Regions from separate parts of the Homo sapiens genome. Here regions 1, 3, 4, 5, 6 and 7 are each linked to region 2. Evidence: promoter capture Hi-C in 16 types of primary human blood cells and fetal thymus (Javierre and others, 2016). All regions are on one chromosome and are shown on one strand. The core of a region is centred on a gene start or on the middle of the fragment in contact, and the rest is flanking DNA. Distances in the headings are between cores, read along the strand shown.

Evidence for each region. Contacts are between HindIII fragments. The CHiCAGO score rates a contact against its expected background, and 5 or more counts as called.
Region 1: a contact is called between a fragment that was not itself captured here and the fragment with the promoter of SSX2IP in region 2, in 2 of 17 cell types (M2 macrophages and total B cells). The highest score is 7.7, in M2 macrophages.
Region 3: a contact is called between a fragment that was not itself captured here and the fragment with the promoter of SSX2IP in region 2, in 2 of 17 cell types (M1 macrophages and erythroblasts). The highest score is 5.6, in M1 macrophages.
Region 4: a fragment that was not itself captured here is called in contact with the fragment with the promoter of SSX2IP in region 2 in 3 of 17 cell types (total B cells, naive B cells and erythroblasts); the score reaches 6.7 in total B cells.
Region 5: a contact is called between a fragment that was not itself captured here and the fragment with the promoter of SSX2IP in region 2, in 1 of 17 cell types (endothelial precursors). The highest score is 5.3, in endothelial precursors.
Region 6: a fragment that was not itself captured here is called in contact with the fragment with the promoter of SSX2IP in region 2 in 8 of 17 cell types (naive B cells, non-activated CD4 T cells, total B cells and 5 more); the score reaches 10.4 in naive B cells.
Region 7: a fragment that was not itself captured here is called in contact with the fragment with the promoter of SSX2IP in region 2 in 1 of 17 cell types (total B cells); the score reaches 6.0 in total B cells.

The regions. Positions count from the first base shown.
Region 1 is chr1:83,951,996-83,954,828 of GRCh38, forward strand. TTLL7 (tubulin tyrosine ligase like 7) reads right to left here. Exons shown (of 21, transcript NM_024686.6): 2 at 192-392. The coding sequence starts at 216. Among named protein-coding and RNA genes, the nearest start is that of TTLL7-IT1, 31 kb to the right of the region's middle. The HindIII fragment of the contact is 1,438 bases long and covers 753-2,190 here.
Region 2 is chr1:84,688,884-84,691,842 of GRCh38, forward strand. SSX2IP (SSX family member 2 interacting protein) reads right to left here and starts at 1,578. Exons shown (of 14, transcript NM_001166293.2): 1 at 1,488-1,578. RefSeq lists a silencer at 1,030-1,789. The HindIII fragment of the contact is 1,864 bases long and covers 187-2,050 here.
Region 3 is chr1:83,915,024-83,917,913 of GRCh38, forward strand. It overlaps TTLL7 (tubulin tyrosine ligase like 7), which reads right to left. Exons shown (of 21, transcript NM_024686.6): 14 at 2,581-2,667. Among named protein-coding and RNA genes, the nearest start is that of LINC01725, 55 kb to the left of the region's middle. The HindIII fragment of the contact is 4,769 bases long and covers 1-2,890 here.
Region 4 is chr1:84,066,280-84,069,069 of GRCh38, forward strand. No RefSeq gene overlaps it. Among named protein-coding and RNA genes, the nearest start is that of TTLL7, 69 kb to the left of the region's middle. The HindIII fragment of the contact is 3,970 bases long and covers 1-2,790 here.
Region 5 is chr1:83,893,003-83,895,884 of GRCh38, forward strand. The region is part of intron 18 of TTLL7 (tubulin tyrosine ligase like 7); the gene reads right to left. Among named protein-coding and RNA genes, the nearest start is that of LINC01725, 33 kb to the left of the region's middle. The HindIII fragment of the contact is 1,194 bases long and covers 693-1,886 here.
Region 6 is chr1:84,087,236-84,090,225 of GRCh38, forward strand. It overlaps a transcript of PRKACB not described here. Among named protein-coding and RNA genes, the nearest start is that of PRKACB, 56 kb to the right of the region's middle. The HindIII fragment of the contact is 8,490 bases long and covers 1-2,990 here.
Region 7 is chr1:83,994,557-83,997,705 of GRCh38, forward strand. The region is part of intron 1 of TTLL7 (tubulin tyrosine ligase like 7); the gene reads right to left. Among named protein-coding and RNA genes, the nearest start is that of TTLL7, 3.0 kb to the right of the region's middle. The HindIII fragment of the contact is 4,005 bases long and covers 1-3,149 here.

The DNA of each region.
Region 1 (2,833 bases), core at 222-2,721, 740 kb before region 2:
AATCAGATAACACTGAAAACAAAAATCTATACCAGACAACACAAATACCACCCCCACCCCACACCAAGGTAAAATTACAAATCCTGGTACTTTAAAAAGTCCCCAATTAATTTTTAATACTTTAAAAATATTAACAGTAATGATGTATAACACCTCCATATTTTGTAACATAGTTAAGTCAATTTCCCTACCTCCTTCTTGAGGCAGAGATGGCATTATTGCCTGTGCTGATTAGCAAGCAGTGTGTGCTGCTGTACCAAGCTCTCAGGAAATCTGGAAATTCCACATTAGTCTAAGTAGGATATGGCCCCAAATCACTGAAAGTTCTTATCATATTATCTTGGTGGAATCCTCAGATTTCAGGATACCAAAGTTATGGGATAACAAGGTACCTGCAGTGATTTTAAAACAAGGTCATTTAGAAAAAACTTTTTTGAATTTTTTTTCATATATGCCAAGACTATTCTTTTTAAAAGTCAAGGTGAAAGTTAATGTGTTCAATCAACAAATAATTGTAAATCGGTTTATTAAACCTTACGCAAAATGCCAAGTGATGCTTTCCTATCCTGAAAGAATGCATAGTCTAGGGGAAGAAGTTTTATTAAGTCACGTGTCACATGTATATTCAATAAATAATATACTATACACAAACAATAACAGCAATAACAATATTCACTACTATTTATTGAACACTTATTATCTTAGGCATTTATATTATACCATTTAATCTTTCAACAAACCTGTAAGGTAGAAGCTTTTATCCCCATCTTACAGATAAGTTGAGCTTAGAAAGGACAAATTATTTTGTGTATCTTTACAAAGAAAATTACAACACAGAGATTAAAATGAAGATTCTTCTAATGTCAATGCCAGAGTGTCTTATTTAGAAACCCACACAACCTTCAACCCAATGCCTGAAACACTGCTTTTAATATGAGACAGTGAAAAGTGCCAGGCAGGGTAGAGGTCACATGTTGACAGAATGCAGAGAAGTGATTCCTATATAAAGGATTATGGGGGACAACTTAATAAAGTAAACCACATCTTGAATTGTGCCTTAAAAAATGAGAACAGTTTTGAAGGACAGAAAATGGGTGGGGTCATTATTATGATGATTTTATTCAGGCACACAGAGGAATGCAACAATCAATGAATTAATTTGATCTGGCTACATCTCAACATGGCCTATAGTACACTTTGCTTGTATTTTCATTGTAAATATATGAACGTAGGCATTTATGCCCTAACAATACCATATTGTTCAGTCTGTACTATCAACTTTCTAATTTCTCCTTATTGTAAGAATCCTTCAGTTCTTGTAAAATATCTATAAACACAATGAAAAATAAAACCTATTATGATAAGCAAAGGTATAATATCAACACCTTTATTAGATTGTCAAGTTTATCAGAAATTCAGAAACATCCAACATTCAGCTACATAAAACGTGAGTCCTATATCACTCCAAATATTCATTATTATTAATGTTTCAATATTAAAGAAAATTTAGGGTTTTATTTGTTCTCAGGTATCATTTTTACTAAAATGATTGTCTAGTATAATTCAATATCAAAACGGGGAACTTTTATTTATTACAGACCAACTGTAGGTAGGCATTTTATTAAGCATTTTAAATATTTTATTTCATTAACAAACTTTAAATTTAGGTATCATTTCTCCCTATTTTCCAGAAAAAGAAACTAAGGCTAGATAAGTTAAACAAATCAAGGTAACATGGCTTAGAAATAGAAAACTTAGACTTTAAACCCAATTCTAATTATTCTATTCATTAAGCTCCCCTATTTTCAGACCCCATGCTAACATAATATATAGACATATGAGAAGTTTCCAACCCTACTGCAGTACATGCCGCAAGATATGGCCATATTCTGGGAATTTGCAATACTTCAAACAGTGAATTCACAGTAAAACATCTCTAAACTGATCTCAGCTCCCAATGCCAAGCTGGAAACAGACTGGATCACTTCTCAGAATAAAAGAAAGGAGTAGTGTAAAGTTTAGTTCAGTTTCTTTCTGGAGGCTCTCTGAAACCTCAGGGAAGTAACTATTTGAGTTTACAAGTTTTTTGTCCAACATCTTGTTACTGGAGTAAACAAAGATCCCCTTTACAGTAACAGAATACTTATTACATTGAAAGTAGGTGACAAAGTCAACAAGACTTTAAAAACAAGCTTCACCTAACTATACTAGATTCTAAAAACAAATTTGTTAGTTTTTGACTTAAATAATAAGTCAAATGGCTGATTTGTACAGAGTTCAAAACAAGAACTTTTATCCCTTCCCCAAGGCATACAGGAATTTAAAGTTCTTAAAATTATACTATGCATATATGCGCTTTACTTAATTCCATTTATGCCTTAGTCAAAGTGCTTTAACAAACTCAAGGACTTCATTCAACCATGGCAATTCTAATCAGCTTTATTCTAAGCAAGAGATTTGAGATGACGGATTTATCCCACCACTCATTTGAAACCATAGTTACCTACTTTCCAAAAGCAGAAAACATGTTTCAGTTACCTCTGAAATGCTTTAAGCCAATGGCTTCTCAACCTTGGCTGCAAAGCAGAATTGCCTGAATGAGGAGCTTTTGAAAATCCTGCTGTCCAGGCCACACCCCAGAACTAAGTGGGGCCCAACCATCAGCATTTCTAAAGCTCTTCATGTGATTCCAGTGCAGCTAAGGTTGAGAACCTCTACTGTAAGCACACGATGACAATGCAACAAATAATAGCTAATTATAACAACACATGAAATTATAAGAAAAAAAGTAAAAGAAAACTCATAACTTTTTTAAAAAGACCAAATAGGTAAA
Region 2 (2,959 bases), core at 328-2,827:
AGTACAAAATGACTTGGCCTAAGAGGTTCAGCCAGTCACTAAAAGAGCCTTCGTTTTAATTATCAGTTCCTAACCCTCTTCTCAAAGAACCGTTTTGTTTGAGAAACCTTCATTAACAGCAGGCAGAACAGAGTGTTAAATTAGCTATTAGCTTTCCTTACTTGTTTAGTGTGAATGAATAACCTAAGCTTCCTAAGCCTGTAGGTTGATAGTTTTAGGATAAGAGATCTGATGGATCAAGTTTTGCCGACTGGATCCAAATTCATAAATCTACCTCTAACTTCTAAATTTCAAAATAGCTTGACGTGAACTTTAAAGGCATTTCTTTCCTCTCCAAATTTCTAATTCTTTACAAATTTTATTCACTCTCCTAAATGAGTCAACTCATACCAACCTTTCTAGTTCAGGATCAAACTGTAGGATCACCAGAATTTTCTTCTACCCCACAGTAAGCCAAACCCCCATGAACCATGAAAAGGTCCATGACATCCATCACCCACAGCTAACTCTACACCTTGACTCTAATCTGAATTGTTAGAAAGCCCAGGAAGTTCAAGAAGCCTCCACCCTTACACTTCTAAATCACCTTCTTTTCTAATCCTCAACCTATTACAGCGTCCAGAAAAGAGAAATCTCAATTCTCTCAGATTCAAGAACTTTATCAGCGTTGCTAGTAATCGCAGTTTGGCATTTACAACTATGGGTCCTGAAACTGGGTAATAATCTAAAAATTCCTACATTATACGTGCAGACAGCAAATTAGTATATTCTATGTCCTGGGCCCAAGCGATATGCCTAACTGGGCAATCAGCATAGGCTCAAAAAATGTGCAGGGAGCTCACAATTCAGTTTACTGTCGTTGACTATAAAATTCTAAACCAAAGTATTTTCATGATAAAATTATAAACCAAAGTATTTTCACACATGCCTGCCTCTTGGATGATGTAAATTCTTCCCCTAGACTTTTTACTAGACCACTATCGGGGTTCTCTTCCACTGCAGCGGCCACCCAATAACTCGTTTTAAAGACTGCCTCTTGCGGCTGCACTAGCAAATCGCCAAACCCCGCATGCCCCACGGCCGCTGCTGAGACTCTGCAGCCCCAAATCGGCCATCCCCTCCTCCCCCACGTCCCCGCGCTGCTCGTCCCCCAACGCCGGGCGCCAACCTTGCTCCATCCCAGAGAGGGTTTGGGGCTCCCCGGGTCAGAGCGCTCCGCAGGCGCAGCTCCGCGAACGCCAGCGAGAGCGGTCCCGGGGCCAGCACCTACCTCCCACCTCCTCCTCCAGGAGCGGCCCGGGTCGACGCTCGCCCGCACCCTGCAACGGCCCCAACAGCCGCGCGGAGCCTCCCGCCGAACAACGGGGCGCTGAGCCAGGTGCCGGCTCTCACCTCCGCGCGCGCCCGCCCCTTGCCGGCGCCCACCCCCGCCCGCCCCTCCCTGGCGGGGCGCGTCACAATCCCCGACGCGAGGCGCTGCTGCTCACCGTCACGGCCCCCGGGAGCGGCGGGGAGTCACCGCTCGGCGTCCTAGCCCGGCTCCCGCAGCCCGAGGGCCAGCAGCGCCTCGCAGCGCCTCCCGCCCGCGGCCCCTCCTCCGCTGCGGGCTCCCGCCTTCCCCGCCCCTTGCAGCCGCCTCCCGGCCTCCGCAGGTTTCCGAGGTTCCCACCCCGCCCCCGCGCGCCGGCGCCGCAGGCCCCGCCGCCTCCCATTGGCTCCGCCAGTTGCTAGGCGATGAACAACCGTGGCCTGCATTGGTCGGGTGGGGGCCTCGGTAGTCTCCTCCTTACCTCCAAAAAAACCCGGAGAAAAAGAAGACCTTATCCCTGCGGTCCGCGCGCGCTGCGGGCGCAGCTGCGGCTGCGGCACCTGTTACGCCCAGTGATTCACCCGGCCGTTTTCTGCTCCCCGCCCCCTTCTGACGCCTGCAGCGTCCGGGGCCGGGGCTCTGTGGGGGCCGGGACTCTGCAGGGACCGGGGTCGTGGCTACTTTAGAGCACGTTTTCCGAGCCCCACTGAACCCCAACACCCAGCCTAGCAGCAAAAGTGAAGCTTCCAGGAGAGCCACGTGCGTTTGCCAAAGTGGAGAAATAAACTGCGGGCACCTAGAATTAGGTCAGGTCCAAGGAACGGGAGGTTCAAGCGTCGGGAGTCGTGGATGCAAACAATCCAGCCGGGAGAAAGTTATATGTAAAATTAGGGCGAAGAAATGGATCTGGGCAGAAGACCGCGGGCAAAGGAAAGACTAAGAAATAGCATTCGTGAACTCAGTTTATGCAAAAATGTCTTACACCCACTCGACAAAGTATGTGCGATGAAAATGTATGCCTGCTGCACCCGTGGCCAGGGTCAGGCTGTCTCCTCCCTGGTTTCATGGCAGCCTAAAATTCACTGGGGAAGAAAAGAAAAGAGGCCAGAGAAAGGAGATCAGATGGAGAAATCACAGGCATATAGGTTACACAAAGATGTTCTTTGATTTTTGTTTTGTTTAGTTTTGGTGAAGCCAAGGGATTTATTCAAAAGGCGAAAAACAGGTTTGGTGTTTTAAGGAGACTCCTGAGAGCACTTTGAAACCAAAACAGTATGAGTGAAGATGCTAACACTGAAAAACAAGAGCGGGAGGAATGTCCACCTCCCAGTTTGCATGCACGTATCCCCAATCCTGGATGAAAGATCAGGGCCAGAAGAAGCACGCCACGGTGACAACTTCAGGGCCCAACGAAATCCTCCTCTTTTCCTTTGGCCAAGCAATCAGAGGCCCGTCTAGCTGCTGTTGAGCCCAGGTGGCGTTACCATTAACAGTTACATTTTTAAAAGGTTTGAACCAAGCTTAGTTGAGCTCTGGGAAGTTTAGCTCTGACCTCAGCAACCCCGGGAAAGGAATAAGATCTGCCTGAATAAACCAGCGGTCTCAATCTTTTGGTCTCAAGACCGCTTTCCACTTGTAAAATTATTGAGA
Region 3 (2,890 bases), core at 84-2,583, 770 kb before region 2:
GAACAGCAGGAGAAAGAAAGAAGGGAAGGTCTAAGCCTAACTGGGGAAATGAGGGAAGGTTTCACACAAGCAACAGCGGTTCAGCTGAAATAGGAAGGAGCCTCAAACAACAAGTCAATGACTTTTTTTTTTAGTAGGAAGACATTTCAGAAGCATGGAAAAGCATGAAAATACGATAGAACAAAGCTGGAGGCATCACACTACCTGACTTCAAACTATACTACAAGGCTACAGTAACCAAAACAGCATGGTACTGGTACCAAAACAGAGATATAGACCAATGGAACAGAACAGAGCCCTCAGAAATAATGCCGCAGGTCTACAACTATCTGATCTTTGACAAACCTGACAAAAACAAGAAATGGGGAAAGGATTCCCTATTTAATAAATGGTGCTGGGAAAACTAGCTAGCCATATGTAGAAAGCTGAAACTGGACCCCTTCCTTACACCTTATACTAAAATTAATTCAAGATGGATTAAAGATTTAAATGTTAGACCTAAAACCATAAAAACCCTAGAAGAAAACCTAGGCAATACCATTCAGGACATAGGCATGGGCAAGGACTTCATGTCTAAAACACCAAAAGCAATGGCAACAAAAGCCAAAATTGACAAATGGGATCTAATTAAACTAAAGAGCTTCTGCACAGCAAAAGAAACTACTATCAGAGTGAACAGGCAACCTACAGAATGGGAGAAAATTTTTGCAATCTACTCATCTGACAAAGGGCTAATATCCAGAATCTACAATGAACTCAAACAAATTTACAAGAAAAAAAAACAACTCCATCAACAAGTGGGCAAAGGATATGAACAGACACTTCTCAAAAGAAGACATTTATGCAGTCAAAAGACACATGAAAAAATGCTCATCATCACTGACCATCAGAGAAATGCAAATCAAAACCACAATGAGATACCATCTCACACCAGTTAGAATGGCCATCAGTAAAAAGTCAGGAAATAACAGGTGCTGGAGAGGATGTGGAGAAATAGGAACACTTTTACACTGTTGGTGGGACTGTAAACTAGTTCAACCATTGTGGAAGTCAGTGTGGCGATTCCTCAGGGATCTAGAACTAGAAATACCATTTGACCCAGCCATCCCATTACTGGGTATATCCCCAAAGGATTATAAATCATGCTGCTATAAAGACACATGCACACATATGTTTATTGCAGCACTATTCACAATAGCAAAGACTTGGAACCAACCCAAATGTTCAACAATGATAGACTGGATTAAGAAAATGTGGCACATATACACCATGGAATACTATGCAGCCATAAAAAAGGATGAGTTCATGTCCTTTGTAGGGACATGGATGAAGCTGGAAACCATCATCCTCAGCAAACTATTGCAAGGACAAAAAACCAAACACCGCATGTTCTCACTCATAGGTGGGAATTGAACAATGAGAACACATGGACACAGGAAGGGGAACATCACACACTGGTGCCTGTTGTGGAGTGGGGGAGGGGGGAGGGATAGCATTAGGAGAAATACCTAATAGTAAATGACGAGTTAATGGGTGCAGCACACCAACATGGCACATGTATACATATGTAACAAACCTGCACGTTGTGCACATGTACCCTAAAACTTAAAGTATAATTTTAAAAAAAAGAAAATATGATAGAAGACAAAGTGGCTAAGGACAAAGAGATAGCATAGTAATTCTGAAATATAAATGGAATAGAATGAAAAAAAAATCCAAGATTTTTCTAATTTAACTCTTTCCTACTCTACTAGCAAGAACTTTGACATATATCAGAAGAACAGCACTGGATGCAGTGGCTCATGCCTATAATCCCAGCACTTTGGTAGGCCAAGGCAGGAGGATCGCCTGAAACCAGGGGTTCAAGACCAGCCTTGGCAACACAGTGAGACACCATCTCTTTAAAAAAAAGAAGAATTTTTTTTTAATTAGCCAGGCATGGTGGCATGTGCCTGTAATCCCAGCTACTCAGGAGGCTGAGGCAGGAGGATCACTTGAGCCCAGGAGTGTGAGGCTACAGTGAGGTATGAACATACCACTGGACTTTAACCTGGATGAGAGTGAGACCCTGTTATCAAAAAAAAAAAAAAAAAGGAGAACATGTAGATGTCATCTACATGACAGCTTTCTACTTATTTCTAGGAATTACACCTATTTTAACTAAAACAAAATCAATGTTGTTAGGTCAGCAAAAGACAGGGCTTCTAATTAGGGTCTCTAGAGTTCATGATTTGCCTTATTTATAATGTTACCCATTTATTTGATAATTATCTGTCTAGAGGTATGAGGCAAACTTAATACTTAGTTTAGAATAAGAGTACTAGCTCTTGGGTCCCTTTTGGCCCTGACTCATGGTCTTTTCACTGTCATCAGGAAAATAACCAAAATGACGAATGAAACTAATAAAACAAAACAAACTCCTGAGTGTAAGGTATCATCATCTTCCAAACTTTACCTGCACTGGGCACACAGTCCCTGTGGTTCCTTTTTTAAAGCAGCACCAGTCTTTCTTATAGTGAGAAGTATCAAGGGCTAGTAGCATCTACTTTGATAAGTAAGGAAGGTAGAGATATACTGCACCTTTGGTCCTCGAGTCTTGGTAGTTTTTCCCATCAACTTTTCATCATCAATTTCACATTGCTCCAGAAGATCCAAAATATCTTCTTCCTTCAAAAAATATTCTAATTAAAATTACAACCACTAATGGACTCTAGAATTTTTCCAAGTTGATTAATCTCCACAAAATAATGCAGAGCAAGGATTCCTGAAATTATTTAGTGAAGATTGCTCAGAAAAAAGGAGAAATATTAAAGGGTCACAGCAAATTCTCTTGAAACTTTCACTAAAATCTGGCATTATAATTAATACATAGCCAAAATCTATTCTGTAT
Region 4 (2,790 bases), core at 178-2,677, 620 kb before region 2:
AAACAGACCATTTCAGCTCTCTAGCCACTCCTACACTTGCATAGTTACTGATAAAACAAATGGCTTTTATTTAGCAAGAGTCATTGTTTCTTAGAGAATACATGTGGTTATAAGTAGTATATAATAAAATGTTTGGAAATAAAAAAGTAAAAATCACCTTAATGTTCTGCAGTGGTTCTGCCATATCCAACAGATAGTATTTAAATAGCAACTTCAACTTATAGGTCAGAAAAACTAAGAAATTATATTTGAATTCATTCTCTTTAATTAGACCCTGAATAATTATTTAACATAATTTTTAAAAGAAATTAAACTTGAGTTTCCTTCTTTATCCTTTCTGTGTTTCCAAATAATCATGAGTTATAGTGGTAAGACCCTCTAACACATCTGTGTGAAGTTCAGTGAAACACTGGCTTGGGAATCTAGAGCCTTGGTTTCAGTCCTGTTTTTTTCTCAGACGATTTAACAAATCCACTTAACCTAACTCTCTGTTTTCTCTATTTTCAAAATGGAGTGGAGAGCATTCATTTTCTACTGCTGCTGTAACAAATTACTATAAAGTTTGTGGCTTAAAACAACACAAAATCGTCTTATAGTTCAGAAGGTTAGAAGCCTAACACAGGTCTCACTGGGCTAAAATCAAGATGTGAGAAGGGTTGTGTTCCTTTCTGGAGACTAGAGGAGAATTGGTTTCCCTGTTCTTTCTACCTCCTAGAGGCTGCCCATATTCCACAATTATTGGCCCCCTTCCTCCATCTTCAAAGCCAGCAATGGCATTGAGTGCTTCTTACAGCTCATCACTCTTACTTCCTCTTCAGCCTCTCTCTTCCACTTTTAAGGACCTTTGTGATTACAGTGGGTGCACAGGGATAGTCCAGGATAATCTCCCTATTTTCACATGAACTAATTAGAAAAAATTTAATTTTCCTTTTTCATGCAAGGTACCATATTCACAAACTGTAGGAATTAGGACATGGACATCTTTGGGAGAGGCATAATTCTGCCTACCACATCAGGTTGACAGAATATTTCTAGTATGTTTAATCCAAAATGTCTACGACTTCATAATAAAGCTCACCACATGTTTTTTAGGGGGAAAGGGATACTCCAAACAGCTCTACTGAGAAGAAATATTTTCTTTACTAACACTGTTAAATAAATCCTCTGTAGTGGACATTGTTGTGTGTATTTTTTGTTTATGTTTATTTTTTTTTCCTAAGTGTTCAACTTCTACTCCATCTTCTTTGGTAATGAAAAATTTCTGCTCTACCACTGATGAGTCCCATGGGACTGCTAATCATTTGCCTTGCTCTGGGTAAGAAGCAGAAATGTAAACCAAGGTAGGCCAATTGAACTGTTTCCTTAAAAAGTGAATTGTGGAAAAAGGAACAAAACTGAATAGCCTTTGTTTTTGTTTGCATTCCGTTGGCTACATTAGGGGAAAATGTCAGGCAGCAACTGCTATTTCAACTCTTTGGAGCTGCCTAGTTCCTGAGTGTGCCAAGCCTGGTTCTTTAGTTTTTGCATTCCCTTCTATATGCAGCTATATATTCGTCCAATAAATTTGTTTTGCTTATATTAGTTAGAGTCCATTTCTAGCATTCAGTCAGTCAAATTAATATTCCTCTTTCTTTCTTGACTTTTATGACTGTTTCCTTGTTCTCTCCGAACTTGTCTGATCACTACAGGCTCCTACTATACCAGACTCCATTTCTTCTCTGTTCCATAGCTATCTATTCTTAGCTGCCTTTTTTCTCTATATTTTCTATTTCATTCATAGTTGTGGTTTTGACTCTCATCTTTATACTAAATTCACAACTCATGTATATTTTTAAATTTACTTTTATTTCAATAAGTTTGCAGGGAGCAGGTGGTGTTTGGTTGCATGAATAAGTTCTTTAGTGGTGATTTCTGAGATTTTGGTGCATCCATCACCCGAGCAGTGTACACTGTACGAAATGTGTAGTGTTTTTTTGTTTTGTTTTGTTTTTGTTTTTTTGAGACGGAGTCTCACTCTGTTGCCAGGCTGGAATGCTGTGGCACGATCTTGGCTCACTGAAACCTCCGACTCCCTGGTTCAAGCTATTCTCCTGCTTCAGCTTCCTGAGTAGCTGGGATTACAGGCACATGCCACCACGCCCGGCCAATTTTTGTATTTTTAGTAGAGATGGAGTTTCACTATGTTGGCCAGGATGGTCTTGATCTCCTGACCTCGTGATCCGCCCACCTTGGCCTCCCAAAGTGCTGGGATGACAGGCATGAGCCACCATGCCCAGCCCCCAATGTGTAGTCTTTTATCCCTCACCCTCTCCCACCCTTTCCCCCTACTCCCCAAAGTCCAATGTATCATTCTTATGCATTTGTGTCCTCATGGCTTAGCTCCCACTTATGAGTGAGAACAAATGATGTTTGGTTTTCTATTCCTGAGTTACTTCACTTGGAATAATAGTCTCCAATTCCATCCAGGTTGCTGCAAATGCCATTATTTCATTCCTTTTTATGGCTGAGTAGTATTTCATGGTATATATATCCCACATTTTCTTTATCCACTTGTTGATTGATGCGCTTCTGGGGTGATTCCATAGTTTTGCAATTGTAAATTGTGCTGCTATAAACATGCAAGTGCAAGTATCTTTTTCATATAATTATTTCTTTTCCTCTGGGTAGATACCTAGTAGTGGAATTGTTGGATCAAACAGTAGATCTACTTTTAGTTCTTGAAGGAATCTCCACACTGTTTTCCATAGTGGTTGTTTTAGTTTACATTCCCACCAATAGTGTAAAAGTGTT
Region 5 (2,882 bases), core at 40-2,539, 800 kb before region 2:
AGAGGAGAGGAGAGATGAGATTAGTGAACACTGAGTTCAAGAATATAATAACTACCTGGGAAATGGGGAGCCAGGGGGATGGAAGGGAATCATTTGGTTATATACGTTATTTCCAAGAACCTAGCTTTTGATTTGCGTGTTGGGTTCACAGGTGGTATAATAAACTTAAAAACACTAAATAATACTAAATAAAAGCAGGCCATGCACAAACCAATCATGAAAGAGTATAATGAAATAAGGACTATGATTAATCTGGACCACTGAAATCCTAGAGGTCCTAAAAAATTTGTAAACCCCAAAAAACTGTTTTGTCTAATTCACATGTACTTGATACTTATGCAATGTAGGTATTTCCAACAAAATTCTTTTGTAAAAAAACAAAAAGAAAAAAAAATGAACACCAAATACTAATATTCTGATCTCCATTCATCAAAGTGGATTTTTCACTTTTTGTTTTATCTAGCTCTATAATTATGGCAACTGCCTATACAAATGAAAGTGGAAGATGAAAAGGGAAAAAGACTTTCAAACATAAAGACTAAAGACATTTCTCTCAACAGACATAAACATGAAGAATTGGAAGCAGATGAAAGAATGATTTCTCTTTAAAACAGCAATATTTAAAGAAATGATGTTTGTTATCTCTGATCAAGGCAAATTTAAACATTTGTTTAAAAATAAATTTAGTAAAAAGCTTTCAAGGTGATATTTATAGAAGACTAGGAACTACAGCTTCTCACAGGGAACTGTGTGAGCAGCAGCATTCCTTCCTTTCCTGTTCCAGCTTCCTGCACTGTGATGGGGGCAGTAATACAAATCCTACTGTAGGTCAGGGTGTGTCCTAGGGGAAGGGGCAGGGGATGAGGAGGGAAAACACAATCTGTAATAAAGTAGTGTGTGAAAAACCTCATGAAAAGGCTCATTACAGGTAACAAATGCTTCATTATAAAGAGGAATATCTTAAAACTTCACAACAATATTGAAATATGAGTATCAAGGCATTAATTCATGCCTTTTAGTTTTTACAATTTTAATTTAAGCTATTAGTTTAACTCTTTATATTTTTTAGTGTAGAAAGCAGTGCTCATGACTAATGTGATATAAGAATCAACACTAACTGTAAATGATAAATTTAAATCATTTTTCTTCTCACTTTTCCTTTCTACTTTCTGTCAATATATTAGTAAGTAATAATAGGCCAAAAGTCATAATGCAGAAAGGAAAGAATAAAAAAGTAGCCAAGATAACCCATGTATTAGTCTCAAGGATAAATATGAGTTATATAAAAATAACTGAAATTGAAAAATGTTATTGATACTGGCAATTTTAACGTTACCTTAAGTTCATCAGTTTTCACATTATATTATAAAATGATTATTCAACTTTAAAATGATAAAGGATTTGAGACCATGGAGTATTCATTCATTTCTTTTTAAATACACTTCAAGGGCAACTAACATGTATCATCCGCCTGCTCTATGCAAAACACTGTGCTAGGCACATTACTTAGAGGAGATTCTTTTGACCACTACTCTGCATATATTTTCTTAATTTAGAGGGAATTTTAATAGCATGACAGTACCATATTCTAGCCCATACATGACTAAAAGCAGCACCTTCAGAATGGAGCCGGGGAGTTAGGGATGGGGAATGCTTCTGCTCCATTCCTAATGTTTTCTTCAATATGGAGATGGAAAAATCTGCAGGCATCATGGCACCCCATCAGGCACCTCTACCTAAGAAGCAATTTCCCAGATTGGTGAGACTGACATGGTCTGGGCAAACTAGGCACATTCTCCTTCCTGTCCAGAGCAAACCACTGGGAACACGCATTCCTCTTTGCTTCTCTTTGCTTTCAGTTTTCAAGGAGCCTCCGCAAGAAGGCAAGCTTTGGTCCTCGGAGACCCACCCCTATAATTTGGAGGGCATGGAACAACAGACTGAGGGAACAGGAACCCAAATCCTTCAACTCTCCTCTGAGTCTTCACATAAGCTCCTTCCTCTGCCTGAAACAGTCTTCTCCTATCTCTTCATCTGATAAACTTCTATGTTTCACTTCAAATGCCACTTCTAAGGAAAACTTTACCTGCCACTGAACTATTGTTTGATATCTTAATGCCCAGTTCTTCCTTTATTAGCAAGCACCTTATTTTATTTTAATTTCCTGTTTAATTAATGGAGACTGTTATGCATATAAAGGGAGTAAACTGTGCCCATCTTGATAATAAAGTTACCAGGTCCCCAAGGCTTAAGACAAGGTCTATCATTTAGTAGGTTCCTGTCTTAGTAAGTCATTCCTTGCAAGAAAGTCACACCTATGTAGACAAGGTAAAAAATCATTGAGAGAACTTACCATGTGCCAAGCACTGTTCTAAGCACTTTTACATATATTAACTCATTTAGTCCTCAAAACAAAAACATGAGGTAGATACTATTGGTCCACAGTCCCTTTCCAAAAATCTCAAGCTTAGATTCCATAATCATACATATTATTAATTCTGCAGGAAAAAAATGTAAATATTCAAACCAAGAGATAGACAAAATCAATACATAACTTCTTGTCAGGTCATTGTCACCAAATGAATTCAGGTAGGTTAGGTTTTGCTGCCTAGGGGTTATGAAAATTTTTTTGGTCGTGAAAACATTTTGGATCCCCATTTTATGGATGAGAAAACTCAGGCACAAAGCAGATAAGTAACTTGCCCAAGATTACCCAGCTCATTGTATCCAGACCTACGCTCTTAACTACATCCAGCACTGCCTCACAATTTAGATTTTCCAGATGCCAGCAGCAAAAGCCTAGAGAGAACCCCATTATCTCTTCTTAGATTCAGATTCATTTCTAGTCAAATGGTATTTGGGAGGAGAGTGGGATCACTGTG
Region 6 (2,990 bases), core at 482-2,981, 600 kb before region 2:
CATATTTCATTTAATCTAGAAAAATTAAAGTTACATGATTAAAGTGTATAAAATCAAGTGGCATAGACAGAAAATCTGGGATTGCTCACCTAAACTTGAAACACTAGAACTCATGGACTATTCTTCCAAACTTATAAAAGCTAGCTGTAGAACAAGTAAAATGAATTATCGTAAAACCTTGATATAGACTGGGCTTAGACAATAAATGTATTTAACTGATTAGTCATTTATGTTTAAAGGTGAAACATGTGTTTACAAATTCAGGTAGTATTTTTAGCAATTTCAAAAGCTAGATAATGCTTTTTTACTCTTTAAAATAATTTTTTATTTTTATTTATTTATTTTGAAACAGAGTTTTACTGTGTTGCCCAGGCTGGACTCAAACTCCTGGGCTCAGGCAGTCCTGCGTAGCTGGGACTGCAGGTGTGTACCATCGAGGCTTGTTTTTTTACTCTTGATAGGTTTTATAATCTCTCTAGCCCCCAGCACTTTCCAAAAGAATCATCAGTATTTATAAGATAAGTCTTCTTCTTGCTAATACTAAGGTTTACTACTATTATGCAAATAAATTGTTTCCCCGATATGGTGGTATAGCTTAAATTGCTTTTAGTGGATTTCTTTATTTTAATTGGCTATAATTAATTTATTCATTTAGTTCATTTTTATTCCCTAGCCAGTGAAATAGGGAGTAAAGAGTTGTCTTCATGTAGCTTATAGTCTGGTAAAAGATTTAGACAAGTAAAAGCACAATTATGAGAATGTTGTAGGAAGTGGATTATAGGACGTGTTTTTTTGTAATGTGAATTAGATTCAGTAATGCTATGTATCTATGCAGAAAATTTTCCGAATCAAATTCGGGATTCTTATAAGTTAAATTGATACACTAGCATAATTGGTATTAGTTCTGCCTTCGAAAATCCAATGTAGATGCCATATTTTTTATCTGGCCTGATGTAACAAGGTATAAAGTCCCAGGCTCTATGGCCATAGTTTAATGTTATATTCACTGTTGTCTTCTATTCATATGTTAACTTTTCAGGGACATCTGAAACTTGTTTTGTTGTAAGATAACTGTGGAATCTAAACCTTTAGGTCTCTGACAAGCCTGTTTTCTCGATCTGGACTTTGTCCTTAGAAAATTAAAGAGACTATTCTTGTGATCATATTAGTTTAGAGTCCTGTTTAGTAAAATGAATATTCCATTTCTATACTGTATTCTTCTTAAGTAGATGACCATATAGCATCAGCAGGCCATTGTTATATGTGAGCCACAAACTTGAGAGAACATGTTGGTATAGATATTACTTCTTTTACAGGGGCTAGCTCTACTGGTAACTTAGCTCTTTCAATCTTAGCTCAGCTCCCTCTGAGTAGGAGCCATGACAGGTTAAACTGTGGAAGAATATGAGCCTCACTTTAGGCTGTAGTCTTTAGGTCATGAATAAGCCATAGTTCAATTCATAGAATGACAGGCAAAACATTCACTTATTTGTCTTTCATTCATTCTTAATCAGTACTTATTGAGCGCCTACTTTAAACCAGGCACTATGCTAGTCTGTAGATGCAAATAAAAATAAGACTTGGTTCCTGTCCTTAAATTGGGAGACAGATACAGATATTTATAGTAAGGCATACAATGATACATAGGTGCCTGAGATTAATACTAGGGTGAAAATGTAGCATAGGAGTTTATAGAGGAGTAGTATAGAATTTCTGAGATCATCTTGGGAAATAGACTGAAACTGACTGAAATGGAAACTTCCTTTGAGTCCATTTTGGAAATATTTACATCTATAATTGTAGCACTTGTACTACATTGCTTTTTCAACTCTTATACCCACTACAGTGTGATCTGGCAAAGCAGTGTCTATGTTGTTTAGTGTTTTAATCTCTGGAATGTGGCACAGTTCTTGGCTCATGTCATGGTGGAAGCTAAAATCATGGATAGTTAAATGGATCAAAAATTCAAACCTCCTGTAGAAGCGTACATCCTCCTCCCTTTCCTCCATTGGCAGGAACTTTGTCAGTAATGTATTGACTATTTGGGGATAATAGTTGATTAATGTGATAAGAGGGTACCTCTTTCCCCCCTTTTTATGGTATATAGTAACTTCTTTGACATTTACATATCAAAATTATATCACAGTTGGTATGGGGAGATTGGTCTCAGGCAGGTAGGAAGAAGACACTGGACTAGGAAAAACTAGAGTATTATGCTCCCAACCTTTTGAAAAATTTGTTATTCAAGGCATGTATCATTCAACTGTGCCACTGTGTTTCTCATCCTTGTTGCTGTCATTTACCAGTCTCTTGCTTACTTCTTATTCATCAAATATTTTGGCATCTGGCCCACAATGTTTCTCTATACTCTAAGCTCTGCATTCATCCTGGATGGTTTCAAATTCTATGTTAATGACTCATCTATCATCACTGCACCTCTGTTCTTTGACCATGTTATCTCCTATTCCCCTTTTGTTCATTCAGATGTCTAGTCTTGCCAAAGACCTTGTAATATTCATTAACTGCTCAAGAATCACCAATGTGTGTGATTCTTTGATCACAATTTCCTCTCCTTTTTGCTTGCTTTTTAAATATTCCCATTATGATCATTCTTCATCAGAACCTCTCATCCATTTATCCATCAGTCCTCTCACTTTCATTTTTTCTTCTTAACCATTCTAGATTACTTGGTCCCAAAATTCCTTTGCACATCTGCCTCTTTATCAAATCTCTCTAACAAAAATGTAACTCATGATAAACTCAGCTATGTGCTTTCTCAGTGCTTTCAGTCAAGAGCTAAGCACTGCTAGAGAAAGCTGCACAGAAGAACACTAGAAATTTACTATCATCAACCTCAAATGAGCTGTCAACATGACTTTACAGTTTTACCACATTTCTCTGATCAACTCTGTCTCTCATTCTTCACAAGTTCTATTTCATTTCTCTCTCTTTATACCTCTGACTTCTCCATTATCTCTCTCATTCTAAGT
Region 7 (3,149 bases), core at 112-2,611, 690 kb before region 2:
GATACTGGGAACAAGGGGAGGGGGAGCATCTGAATGCTGAGAAGAGATGTTGGGAACTTTATGCATCTGACAATCACTGTTCTCAAAGGTCATCTCTGGCAAATGTACAGGGGAGGCAGGAGAGGTCTTTAATGTCTGTCAACTGTCCCTCCCTTACACCTTATACCTTGTGCCCAGGACTTCTGCTCAGACCTAAGCAGAGGTCCCAAATTCCTGCTCTCACCTTTGTGAATTCCCCAAATTAGAGTGCAAAAGTGAGCTCACAGCTGTGCCTTGCAATATCAGGACCCTGAAGCTGGAGACCTGGGAATCTGATATAAGAGGATAGAATAAACTGAAATTTGAAGGAGATAGATATGTGTGTTGTGGGTGAGGGAATGCAGAGGTTTACAGCTGAAGTCCACAAATACAACACTGGAACCAGAAAGTAGTCTATCACATATTCTCCTTCTCTGACTATCAACTCTTACTCACTCTCACCAAGCCTGTTCTCCAACTTAGTATCTTCTCTCCTCAGTAACACCAACTGCCTGCCTTTCTCCCAGTCTCCATGATTTAATCAGTCTTTAGTCTAATCAAAAGAAGTTGCTTGAAAGACTATAATCTGAGGAGCCACAGACAAGATTGGGTGTTATGAATTATTAATATGCAAATATTCTATAATCAACATGTAAGTATTCCAAATTGAACACTGGGAATTGATACAGTTTGGATATGGGTCCCTATCCAAATCTCATGTTGAATTTTATTCCCCAGTGTTGGAGGTGGGGGTGGGAAATATTTGAATCCTGGGGACATATCCATCATGAATGGCTTAATGCATCCCTTTGGCGGTAAGTGAGCGCTCACTCTGAGTTCTCACAAGATCTGGTCACTTAAAGTGTGTGGCACCACCCCCTCACTCTCTCTCTTGCTCCTGCTTTCTGCTATGTGACGTGCCTGCTCCCCCTTCCCCTTCAACATGATTGGACGCTTCCTAAGGCCTCCCCAGAAGCAGATGCTGCCATGCTTCCAGTACAGCCTGCAGAACTGTGAGCCAATTACACCTCTTTTCTTATAAATTACCTAGTTTCAGGTATTTATTTATAGCAATGCAAGAATGGCCTAATATAAGAACTCAGTAGTTTCAAAACTTGCTTAAAATAGTGCAACTTCAAGACCTCATACCCTTTAACCCAGAAATTTTATTTCTGAGACTCTATGCAAAGGAACTAATATTCAAAATACAAAAAAAAGCATACGCACAAAGATGTTCATCACAGTGCTATTATTATCATCAATAATTGTTTATTATGATGTCATCAATAGTGACAATGAGGAACAATTAGGCAATGATAATACATCTACCAAATGGAAAATTATGTAGTCATTTTTAAGCCTGCTATTAGGCATTTTAAACCTAGTATTAAGCCAGTTGTAATTAAATGAAAACTAAAGTTATAGAATTTTAAATTTAAAAATAATATAAAAGTAATATAGATACCATAATTAAAACTACGCATGAAAAAAGTGGAAAGAAACATGTCAAAAATGAATAGTGATTGTCTTTAGTTGGTCAAATTATGAGGGTGTTTTTTTCCTTTTTATATTCTTAAACTTTCCAAATTGTTCATAATTATCTAATGGGGGCCGGAGCTAAAAGGCAAATTCCTTTGGAAGAGGAAAAATTGTACTTGCACAGAAAACTTTTTCTCAGTTTAGTTGACAATCCTTTTAGTACCCAGGAAACAGACCATTTCCTGGAAGGGGACTCGGGGCAACAGATATGGAGAATGTAAGAAAGAGAAATGATTAACAGATCAGAAACAGATCTCACTGTCTGACATTCAAGTTTCTTCATGATCTTTCACCATGTATCCAAACAGTAGATGAGCACTTCTTAGCTGAACCTTTATGTGGCTTTCTCTTTGCCTATCAGAATCCTTCCAGTCTCTGAGACTGATTTAATTCACTTCAACCCATGAAGACTTTCCTGATCCTCTGATCATCCAAGGCTCTACTATTTCTCTTTTCTCTTAAGGTACCGCTATAGCAGTAGGTCTGCACCACCCTTTTCTGGTATTAAGCCAATTCTAAGTTATTTGTTAATTACTCACGTGTAAGTAAAATTTCCCCTGCTAGACTTTAAGTTCCTTGAAGTGGGGAATTTAGATGGTTTGCAGACTGTAGTCATTGGACAGAGGAGAGAGAGCAGTTCTAAAGCCAAGTTGGTATTATATTCATACTCTCAGTGATGTCATCTAAGTAAAATGTGCTGTCTCTGTTTTAAAATGTTGCTGCTGACCATCCATCACCAGGACATGCACTTTCCTTTTTTTTTTTTTAACAGCAGTGGTATTGTATTTTTGCTTATTCATTCATGCCAGTTCTGCTGTCCCCCTTAGGATTAAACAGATTGGATTACAAGATGCCTTGCCAAGGTTCAGGATATAGGTTATAGCCATGTAAAGAACAAAATGAAATGACTTTTAGGAATCAAACTCAAGACTCTTCACAAGACCCCACTTCTCATACTCTTGTTTGAACAACAAATATAAATTTGTGCCTCCATTTTATGTCCTTATTTAGGCAGTGGACTTTATCAATACCCCCGTTAACTTGAAAAAGAATTCTCCAATGCAAATGGTTCAATACTTTAGAAATGACATACTAAGATGACTCTGTTCCTGCCTACCATCAATACTATGTGAGTATTTAGAGATAATGAGCATCTGTACTATAGCAACCTGCCTCTTGAGACATAAACAAGAGATGCATTTCTTAAGAAAAAATCTGTAAGTCGCTAATGAAAGCAAGTCAAAGGACCCATCAACGGGCGAAGAAAGACCTAGCATCCATTATTTTTACAGAAGGAGCATAGAAGGTCAATATAATTGTTGACTCTTAACGGCAGGGTAACAACAAACTAATTCAGTTTCCCACTATATAAGAACTACATTTTACTACAACACTCATATTTCTAAACTGACTAAGAGTCAAGGCTTGTCCAAATTCCATGGCTTACTGAGTGGTCTTGAACCTTCTCTGAATTTTGTTCCTTAGTCTGTAAAATGGAGTTATCACCTGTTATGCAATATCACAGAGTTGTAATGAATCAAGTAACATTATCTTAGTATGGGTTCACCTGTCACCCTATTGTGGGGTGCAGT